Regions from separate parts of the Homo sapiens genome. Here region 1 is linked to region 2. The links are contacts of gene promoters, found by promoter capture Hi-C in blood cells and fetal thymus (Javierre and others, 2016). All regions are on one chromosome and are shown on one strand. Each heading gives the region's core, a stretch centred on a gene start or on the middle of the fragment in contact. The rest is flanking DNA. Distances are from core to core; before and after follow the strand shown. Region 1 has its middle 2.7 kb from the start of BNIP3L. Region 2 holds the start of PCM1 (pericentriolar material 1).

What was found. Contacts are between HindIII fragments. The CHiCAGO score rates a contact against its expected background, and 5 or more counts as called.
Region 1: a fragment that was not itself captured here is called in contact with the fragment with the promoter of PCM1 in region 2 in 1 of 17 cell types (total CD8 T cells); the score reaches 5.6 in total CD8 T cells.

Annotation. Positions count from the first base shown.
Region 1 is chr8:26,377,997-26,382,700 of GRCh38, forward strand. It overlaps the pseudogene SDAD1P1. Among named protein-coding and RNA genes, the nearest start is that of BNIP3L, 2.7 kb to the right of the region's middle. RefSeq lists an enhancer at 3,535-4,704. The HindIII fragment of the contact is 838 bases long and covers 2,215-3,052 here.
Region 2 is chr8:17,920,109-17,924,502 of GRCh38, forward strand. It overlaps PCM1 (pericentriolar material 1), which reads left to right and starts at 2,880. Exons shown (of 39, transcript NM_006197.4): 1 at 2,880-3,080. LOC124901867 reads right to left here. Exons shown (of 4, transcript XM_047422505.1): 2 at 4,049-4,119; 3 at 3,401-3,658; 4 at 920-3,238. The coding sequence ends at 2,556. RefSeq lists silencers at 72-366, 3,092-3,386 and enhancers at 2,248-2,697, 3,848-3,907. The HindIII fragment of the contact is 6,694 bases long and covers 1-4,394 here.

The sequences.
Region 1 (4,704 bases), core at 1,384-3,883, 8.5 Mb after region 2:
TCCTAAAAGCATCAGGCCCCAATGTTTCCATAGGGAATTATAACATCTCCTTAAAGAAAGTAATTTCAATGTCATCTATGTAAGACCAGAGAAAAGGAAACTTTCTAATTATTTTCAATAAAATGAGTATAGTAAGCTGGGCAAAGTGGCTCATGCCTGTAATCCCAGCAGTTTGGGAGGCTGAAGCAGGGGGATCCCATAAGACCAGGAGTTCAGGACTTGCCTGAGCAACACAGGAAAACTCTGTCTCTACAAAAAACACAAAAAAATAGCTGGACATGATTGCAGGCACCTGTAGTTCCACCTACTGGGAAAGCTGAGGTGGGATGATCACTTGAGCCCGGGAGGCTGAGGCTGCAGTGAGCTGTGATTGTACCACTGCACTCCAGCCTGGGTGATAGCATGAGACCTTGTCTCAAAAAAATAAAAATAAAATAGCACATGATTAATAAAAAACTTTTTTTTGAAAGTTTAAAACCTTTTGAAAGGAGCACCTAAAAGGAAAATAGAACAAAGTGGGATCTCGTAGTCCTGACTGGGAAAACAATTCTATAAATATGTCAATAATCCCCTCAATTTCTTTTTTATCATTTGGCATTAGAAACCTTTTATTGAGACAAACGGTGGGCTGAAAATAATACAGGGTGAAGGAAGGTTGAGGAAACCAGTATGAAGGCATCTCAAATGATGAACTAAATACATTCCAAAGGTACTATTTACACTTAAGGCAATTTTAAAAGTGAGGTCTTAACCAAAAAGCCTTTACATGGCATTAAAAAAAAAAAGCGGGGGTCATTTAAATCTTTTGGATTGACTAAAAGAGCTAAATTATGTACCCAAAATCTGTACAGCAGGGGCCTGTTTTCAGCAGGTAAGCCTATTATATGCAAGAAAGAACCTCTTACTCTTGTTACAATTGTCCTGTTTTGCTTTGTTTTACAGGAATATATAACCCCCATCCCCACAGAGTTAGTCCATAAGGCCTCAGTGTCTGCATAGAAATGTGGACCTACCTCTACTAGAGAACTATTTACACTGCACTGTAAATACACGTCTGTGTCCACCCCCACAACTAAGCTGTCAATGCCTTGAGTGAAGGGGTAGTTACAACTCAGTCATTTTGTATCTACAGTGACAATTAATAGGCACTCAATACTTTTTTTTGCATGAATGATAAATGATATTACACTACCACCACTATTTACATTAACATTTCCCATCATTAGCTGTCCCCAAAATAAAAACACCAAATTGCTGCCACATTTTCAGCAGTTTTCATAATATAGTGCTTCTGGACTTTTTAATGTAAACAAACATGCTTGATTTACCAATTTTCAGAGTAATGACACAAACTTAGCATTCTTCTTGGAATGGAAAACTTTCTGGGAAGTTACTTCATTCTTTTTCTCTTTTCAAAAGGCATCTCGCAGCGCCAACTGTTTTTCTCAGAAGGAACGCTTATTTTCTGACCAGACATTCTGGCTATACCACATCATCATAAAGTTCTTCTGTTTTTTCTTCTCTTTACTTTTTGAACTGGAAAATGGATTCACTTTGGTTTTCTTCCTCACAAATTCTTTTCGGTCTGTCTTTCCAGCCATTGCAGTTGCTAGTCTTGTCTCTTTGTCAGATTTTGGCTTTTTATGAAGGCGTTCAATGTCCGGAAGAGAAAGTAATTCACCCCTCGGCTCTTCATCACTGTCGATTTCAATATATTTCCTCTTCTGGGATTTCCCGGGGACAGCGTCAAGTTCTTTTCTCATTTGCGCCATGCGGATTTTCTGGAAGTCTTCCTAACTTAAAACTCGACTGGTGCTGACGGCTGCAGTTTTGGCTTTCTGCTCCTCCATGGGCATGGTGTTCAGCTTCTTGGAAATTTCTTGCTGTTCTTCATTGGAAGAGTGTTGCACATCAACCCATTCGCCATCGGCATCCTCCTCCTCACTGAGACTGGTACTTTCCCATCCATCTTCATCATTTTCAGCACTCTCCTCTTTCTCAACTTCCAGAACTTCTGCTCCTGGAATGTAACCTTTAGCATCTAATTCTCCATATTCTTGTACTCTTGCTTCTATGGAGGCTTCTGTAGGCTTACCCCAGAATTTCTTCTGCAGCATCTGAGGATTCAGTGTTCGGAAGAGCCGAATCAAAGTTCTAGCAGACATCATTACATTATTATCCTTGTGTGTTTTATACTGAGCCAGGTCTTGGAGAAGCTTTTCAGTCATGGCCAGAGGACACTGAGCTGTTGTCTCTTTTACAGCATTGATTCCTATTGTCATGGCTTCTCCAGAGTTCTTGTCGTTAACAAAATTGTTGGCCACAGTCATAAGCAATGATTGAATAATCGCTGGGTGTACTAGGTGATGAGATGCTTGTGCAGCAAACAGAAGGTTCTTTGTTACTTCTCTTTGGTGGGGCTGCAGAAACCTTCGCAAAAAGTGATAGAAATTGAAGAGGAAGAGCTTATGAATTCCCACCAATCTGAGATGAGGTTCATGAGCATCATCTTCACTTCCAACCTCTCCTTACAGCACTCAAGCTGCTTTAGTAGTTTTTCTGCAAAATCTTGGGGATCATGAATCAAGTGAACGGCTAAAAAGTTAAACACCTCTGGTTTTTTCTTCTTCTTTTGTTTCTTGAGCACTTTCATTGCCTTTTCCAACTTTTTCTTGTTTTGGGAACTTTGTTCCCTGTAGCATACTGTGCTAGCAGGTCTCTTGCTGTTGGTCCGTCATCCTCAGATTCGGAGTCACTGGCCTGTTTTTCATCTTCATCTTTTCCAAGAAAGAATGTCAAAGCAGCAACTAATATCTTGGTGACCTAAGAGAAACATGCAGTTGTGATAACATTGACAGTTTTGGTATCATTCCAGATGTTCCTTCTGTAGAGTTCAATCATAACATCTAAAGACATCTTGGCTGCAGTTGCATTGCTATCTCTCAACATGGTATACATGAAATTTTACAATACTACATCCACTTTATTCTTGTGTTTTGCATTTATATTCTTGATATCAGTCACGATATATGTGTATGAAGTCTTTTGCAGAAGCTTATCATGGCAACAGAGAAGTTCAAAGAAGAGTTCTAGCAGGCTTGATGGATTGATGAGATTCTTATTTCTCAGCAAGATCAAAGCTTTGCAAAATGTCATTCGAAGATCTGGATCCAATACAGTATGATTACAGGACAGAAGATCTTTCACCACTTGAGGAAAATTACTTAGATACCCTGGGTAGCAGTAACTAATCTATAACAAAGCAAAGGCTCTTCTGAAGTTTCTCTCTTTCTCTCCTATTATTCAGATGCACATATTTAGGACGTTCTGTGCCATAAACACCACCAGCTCTGCTAGTTCTTTACCGGGTTTATATGGTTGCAATTTGAAAATCTCCACATTGGATGTGTAGTGATTATACTGCTGTAGAAACTCCTAGATGGAGGGTGGTGGGTCTCGCTTCATCAGATTCTGTAACTGCAGTCAGGTTGCTGGGCAGCTTGTTGTTGTTTCTGCTGGACATTCTGGCTGAAGACTGGCTTCGCGGCGAGCAGTTTTAATAAAACTCAGATGGCCAGCAGCCGCCAATCCCTACCAGCTGCGGCTTGAACTCCTGCTTCCGGGTATGACCGGAAACAGCACTCAATCTATTAATAGAGTTCATTTCTGACCAAAATCTTAAAAGAATTTGCAAAGGGATTTGACAAATCAATCCTTAAAAAAAACCTTTTAGCATGGACTTTTTCAAATATATTAAAAAATTAGAGGAATACTTTAATGTATTACATAGCTTCAATAATTACCAACACAAGGTCAATCTTGGACAAGTCCATTTTTAAGTTCATCTGAAGAGTAACTAGCCATTAACATCTGAAAAAGACAAAGGAAGAGAAACTTTAATAGTTATCTAACAGAGGTATTGCAGATAGCCCTGAAACAGACTCACATTTTTGTGGTCATTCAGAGAGTGACAAAGGTGCAATTTCAAATCAGTGTAGAAAGGATGGCTTAAAATTAATATTATTAGGTCAATGGGCTACAAAATTGGGAAGAATTGAAGTTAAATAATTTACAGCATATGGAAAATAAATTTCAGATGGATTAGAGCTCTAAATGTAAAGTTAAGCCTATAAGAAAATTAGAAAAAGTTATAAGGGAATTATAGATTAGTAATCTTGGTGTGACTGTCTCCCCAAGCCATGTAAGAATGATAAATCTGATTACATGAAAACCTTAAGCTTCTACAGAGTGAAAAAAACAAATTAAAAGACAAGTTAGAGACTGCGAGAAACATATGTCACTCATAAATCAGACCAAGGAGACTGGACGAAGACATGGAGATGTGAAGTAGGAGGTGTGCTCAGGAACATAGTTTAATGTCATCCACGTACAGGATAAACGGCTTCCCACGTCATGTCCCAGAAATCGATTAGTCGATGGGATTTGGGTGAGTACTTTCTTCTCTCTGTTTTCCTGAATTTTTCTTTTTTCTTTCTTCCCCTTTCTTCTTTCTCTTTTTTTCAGAATGATGGTGTGTTTGTAATCGACATTTTAAAAATTCTGTAACAATTAAATTTGGGGGCGGCCTTCCCTTGTTTCCCGTATGGAGTGTTGATGTTTCAGCAGCTTTATTTGGAGTTTACACGTGGAGGCACCTGGGTTTGGGGATTCCTTTGTGTCCCCAAGACACCTATTGCAGAAGTG
Region 2 (4,394 bases), core at 1,630-4,129:
CCTTACTTTATTCATCCTGCTACTACCTTAGGCCAAGCCTTCATTACTTCATGACAGGTTGGCACCTGTTCTCCTTGTCTTCTTTTCCTAGTCTTTACAAAACATTGCCACTAGATTGAAGTCTTCAAATAACCATTTCATTACAGCATTGACCTCTTCCAAAGTCTCAAATGGTTTCACACTAACTGAAGAACAAAGTCCACACTCTTTAGATAAGTAGTTGACTTTCTATAGTTTGGCCCCAACCTGGTAATAAACCTTGCCTTCTCCCACCTCCCCATCACTTACCATATATAAATCCTCTACTTCAGCCAGTCTGTTTTTTGTCCATTGCTTACTCTGGATGTGTGATCTGTGTTCTTGGTATATCCCACTTCCTTGAACATCATTCTGCAATTTGGAACTTCCACCCCCTGCATATTTAATACATGTGTTAGGTTGTTCTCTTGAATGTGGAAAACTGAAAGGCAGTTTCAATGTTTATCTCTTAGAGGCCATTCTTCTGTTTCCTATCTACATTTCCACAGACTGCTGCCCCTAATTTCATCCTACCTATAAATCCTAGAGCTATCATTATCTCTGAGACAAAACATCCCTATTTTAAAAATCTAAATTACCACAGCAATCAGTGTCTACATCATTTGTTTGGCATAGTGACGGACTATTAACACTAAGTCGATTCATTCTGATAAAGTTTGTTTCTAAAAATAGATGTTAAATTTCTGAAAGCCAGGTATAATTTTATCGCTTCTTGTTTTTTTTCTTTCCTTCTTCCCTTACAAAGATCAGTAATGCTCATATTTGAGTTTGAGATCCCCTTTTCAATGTAAATATTTCTCAAATTCCTCTTACCTCCCAACAAACAATAGTATTGACATTCTGGGGCTTCATAAATTCAGAAAACATCATGACTAGTAGATATTATAATTTCATGCTTTTGAATTTATTAGAATTGTTTTAATGATAACAGCTTCTACATTTCAATGTAAATATTTCTCAAATTCCTCCTACCTCCTAATAAACAATAGTATTGACATTCTGGAGCTTCATAAATTCAGAAAACATAATGACTAGTACGTATTATAATTTCACGCTTTTGAATTTATTAGAATTGTTTTAATGATAACAGCTTCTACATACGTTTAATAATAATACATATGTATAAAGCAAAATAATGATGATAGCTAATATTTCGGGCCTCAACATATACTAGTGTTTTTATATGCGTTGTATTTAATTAAAAAAAATCTTAAAGGAATCACATAGACCTCCGTTTAAATTTAGGCTCTACCACTTGCAGCTGCTACAAGTTTGATTTATATAATCTTTCATTGCCAAAACGGGTCAGATTCAGAACCAGCCTCTTCAGGGTAACTGTGAGGATCAAGAAAATCACAACAGCCGAAGTGCTTTACAGTGTGCCTGGCATAAAACAAACTCTGAGAACATTTTTTAAAAAATCCTTTCAAGGTAGGCAGTATCATTCCTTCCCCCTCATTTCATAGATGGGGCAATTAAGGCTCAGAAAGGCACGTCGCTTGTCCAGGATCTTGGAGTGGTGGAATTAGGATAGGGCATTCTGGACTACAATAAACACCTGAGCGTTTAGCTGCTGTGTTCTGAGCTCCCACAGCACTTTTTCTTACAACACAAACTTTATTTACATCACACTCCACTTCCGCATCCTTCACTAAAATATGAGCTCTTCAAGGGCAGGGACTATATTTTTGCTACCGCAGTAGTTAGCGATACACACACAGAATATGAGGAAAAAGTGTCTGACCAACGATCAATGCACTCACGACTGAACCTACGGTGGCAGATTGCAGTGGGATAGAAGAGCTTTATGTGAATTGCGTACTGAGATGCAGACCTACTATTTTGGGAACAATTTGTTTTTGTTGTTGAAACCCAGAATGCAATTCTTCTTTTTACCTTTATTTTGCTTAAAAAGTTATTCCATAATTATAAACTGCGTAAAACTAGAAGAATGCCCTTGCACTCAACTAAAACTGACAGGTGTTTTACCTTTCCAGTCAGGCACATTGAAGGCCTTGTGACTTTATTGATTTTTGTTTTTTAAAGGGAGGACCTGCCAATTTATTAATCTTAATAGAGCTGTAACAGGAGAGTATAAATAAAAAGATAGTTCAGAGAAAATTTACTGAAATTAAGTTTGGATTAAAATCATCTGGCTCTTTTAAGGAAAAGGGACATTAACCAAAAGTGGCGTTAACTATCAACAATATTTATGATTCTCTCACTCAGTAGATACATAATGACGTCTGGCAAATTGTTTAACTTCCGTGGAACAATCCCCTCATATGTAAAATCAGGAGGTTGGACTACATTGTAAGTGTCCTTTTGTTTCCACCTCTTCGTGACCGAATGTGGGGTGAGGAAGGGGCAAAAAAGCGATCCCGGTCTTGGCTCCTTCTTCCGGCACGGGCCGGAGCTGACACCCCCACGGAAAACCGCACAGCGCCTCCGCTCTTTCTCCACGGGCTGAGGGATCAATGCACTTCCGCATAGGCCTAGGGCCCCACGCTCCGCGATCAGCGCCGGAAGCGCACGGCATGCTGGGATTTGTAGTCCTCCACCTGTGGCCGGCAGGCGTTTAGAACGCGAGGTCTAGTTGGCATTCTGGGATACATAGTTCCTGGGCGGGTGGGGGCGGATTCGTTGGTGTAATCTCTTTTCGGCTTAAAGAGCCAGAAGCGACACCACAGACTCCGGCGGGTCACATGACTCCAGTCTAGCTCGCATTGCGGCTCCCGCCCGGGCGAGTTCTCGCCCCCGCGCGGCCGTTGCCGAGGAGACGGCGCATGTCCCGCCGCGCGTTGCCCCCTCTGCAGTACCCCCGCCCCTCTTCTCCCACCACAATGAGATCCTAAGATGGCGGTGGCTGCGGCGGTTGGCGCTGCGTAGCTGAGGTCGAAAAGGCGGCCACTGGGGCCGAGGCAGCCAGGAAACGTGTGGGCCTCTCTGCTGCGGTCTCCGAGGGCCGACCGCTGCCGGCGGCGGGTCGTGGGGGCTGACTGTCGCTCTGCCTTTGACAGGAGAGGCTGCTTCTTGTAGAGGTAATGCCTGCGCGTCCCCAGCCCTTGGCAACCTAGGGCGGCGCGCCCCAGAGGCGGGAGAGTAACGGCTCCGGGACACTCGGCCCTGTTGGGTCTGGCCACGGGCCCACGCCTCCTCTGTAGGTTCCCGGGTCTTCCTGCCCCGGGCTTCCCGTGCCCTAGGCGGTCAGTCCGCCCGCTCCCTCAGGACTGATCGCCGGGATCCCCGGGTGAGCACCTCGCGACGCGTTGGTGATTGCAGGACTCCCTTCTTGCCTCCTCGCCCCTCCTGCTGGCCCTGTCGGGGAGGCTGTTCTGCGTCCCGGTGGCTCCGGCTATACCCCTTGCGGGCGGAGGAAGCGGAGCGGGGACTCTGGTTTGGGTGCTAGGGGCACTGGGTCGAGTTCTTAGAGAAACAGGCCTTGGTGGCCATAGTTCTTCCCCGCGTTCCCTCTGTGGAACTCTCGGTGTCCAGAGTTTGGGGTGTAGAAGGGCGGATGAGGAGCGACGCGACTCTGAAGAGTTGCAGTTGGGCTGTGAGCTGCAGGATTTCCGCCGTCTCTGGTGCTGTGGGAGCCGATGGGCCGGGGGAGGCGTTCCTGGGAAGGTTAATGGAGTAATTATTGCCCCTTCTTTCTCCCTTCCTACCTATCTAGTTAGAATTGGGCCTAGAACCGGGAAAGACTAAATGCCAAGTGGGACTGGGGGAAACGTTGTTTGGTTTACAGAAACTGGCGTTTGGGGATTAGGCCCCGCCAGGGAGGCTGGGCGCGCCAACTTTGCATCCCTCAGCCTACTCCCCAGGAACTCGCCTGGTTTAATTTTTTTTGTTTTGTTTTGTTTTTTTGAGCGAGTTGAGGTCTGTATTGTGTGTCTTACGGGTGACGGTTCGTGTTTGGGCGCTGGAAGGAGCGGGCTTTCTGGGCGCCCCTACCACCCCCGCCCCATAACCGCTTTCCAGACTCCGCCTGCTGGTGTTCTCTGGTTACCGGAGTGGGTGTTGCAGAGCCTCGGGTGCACCTGCTCCTTTCTTTCCCTAGCACCTTCCTGGTGAGGACCCCTGAACACCAATATAATACAGAGTTTTTGAATTGAAGGTAAACCTGGTATTTATGTAGTGACGAGGTTATTTTATTATGAAGTACAGTAGCTTTTAAATGAGCAAACATTTTTAAAATCATCGGATATACGAGGTTGTTACATAGTTTGAGTAACAGGAAGCTCGATCAATCAGAGGAGTAAACTTTGGCATAGACTATTAAAGGATAGTTAGGGCTAACCATCTTTGTTACACTGTTCCGAAATAGATATCACTTTGCTGTTTGGTAAGATTTC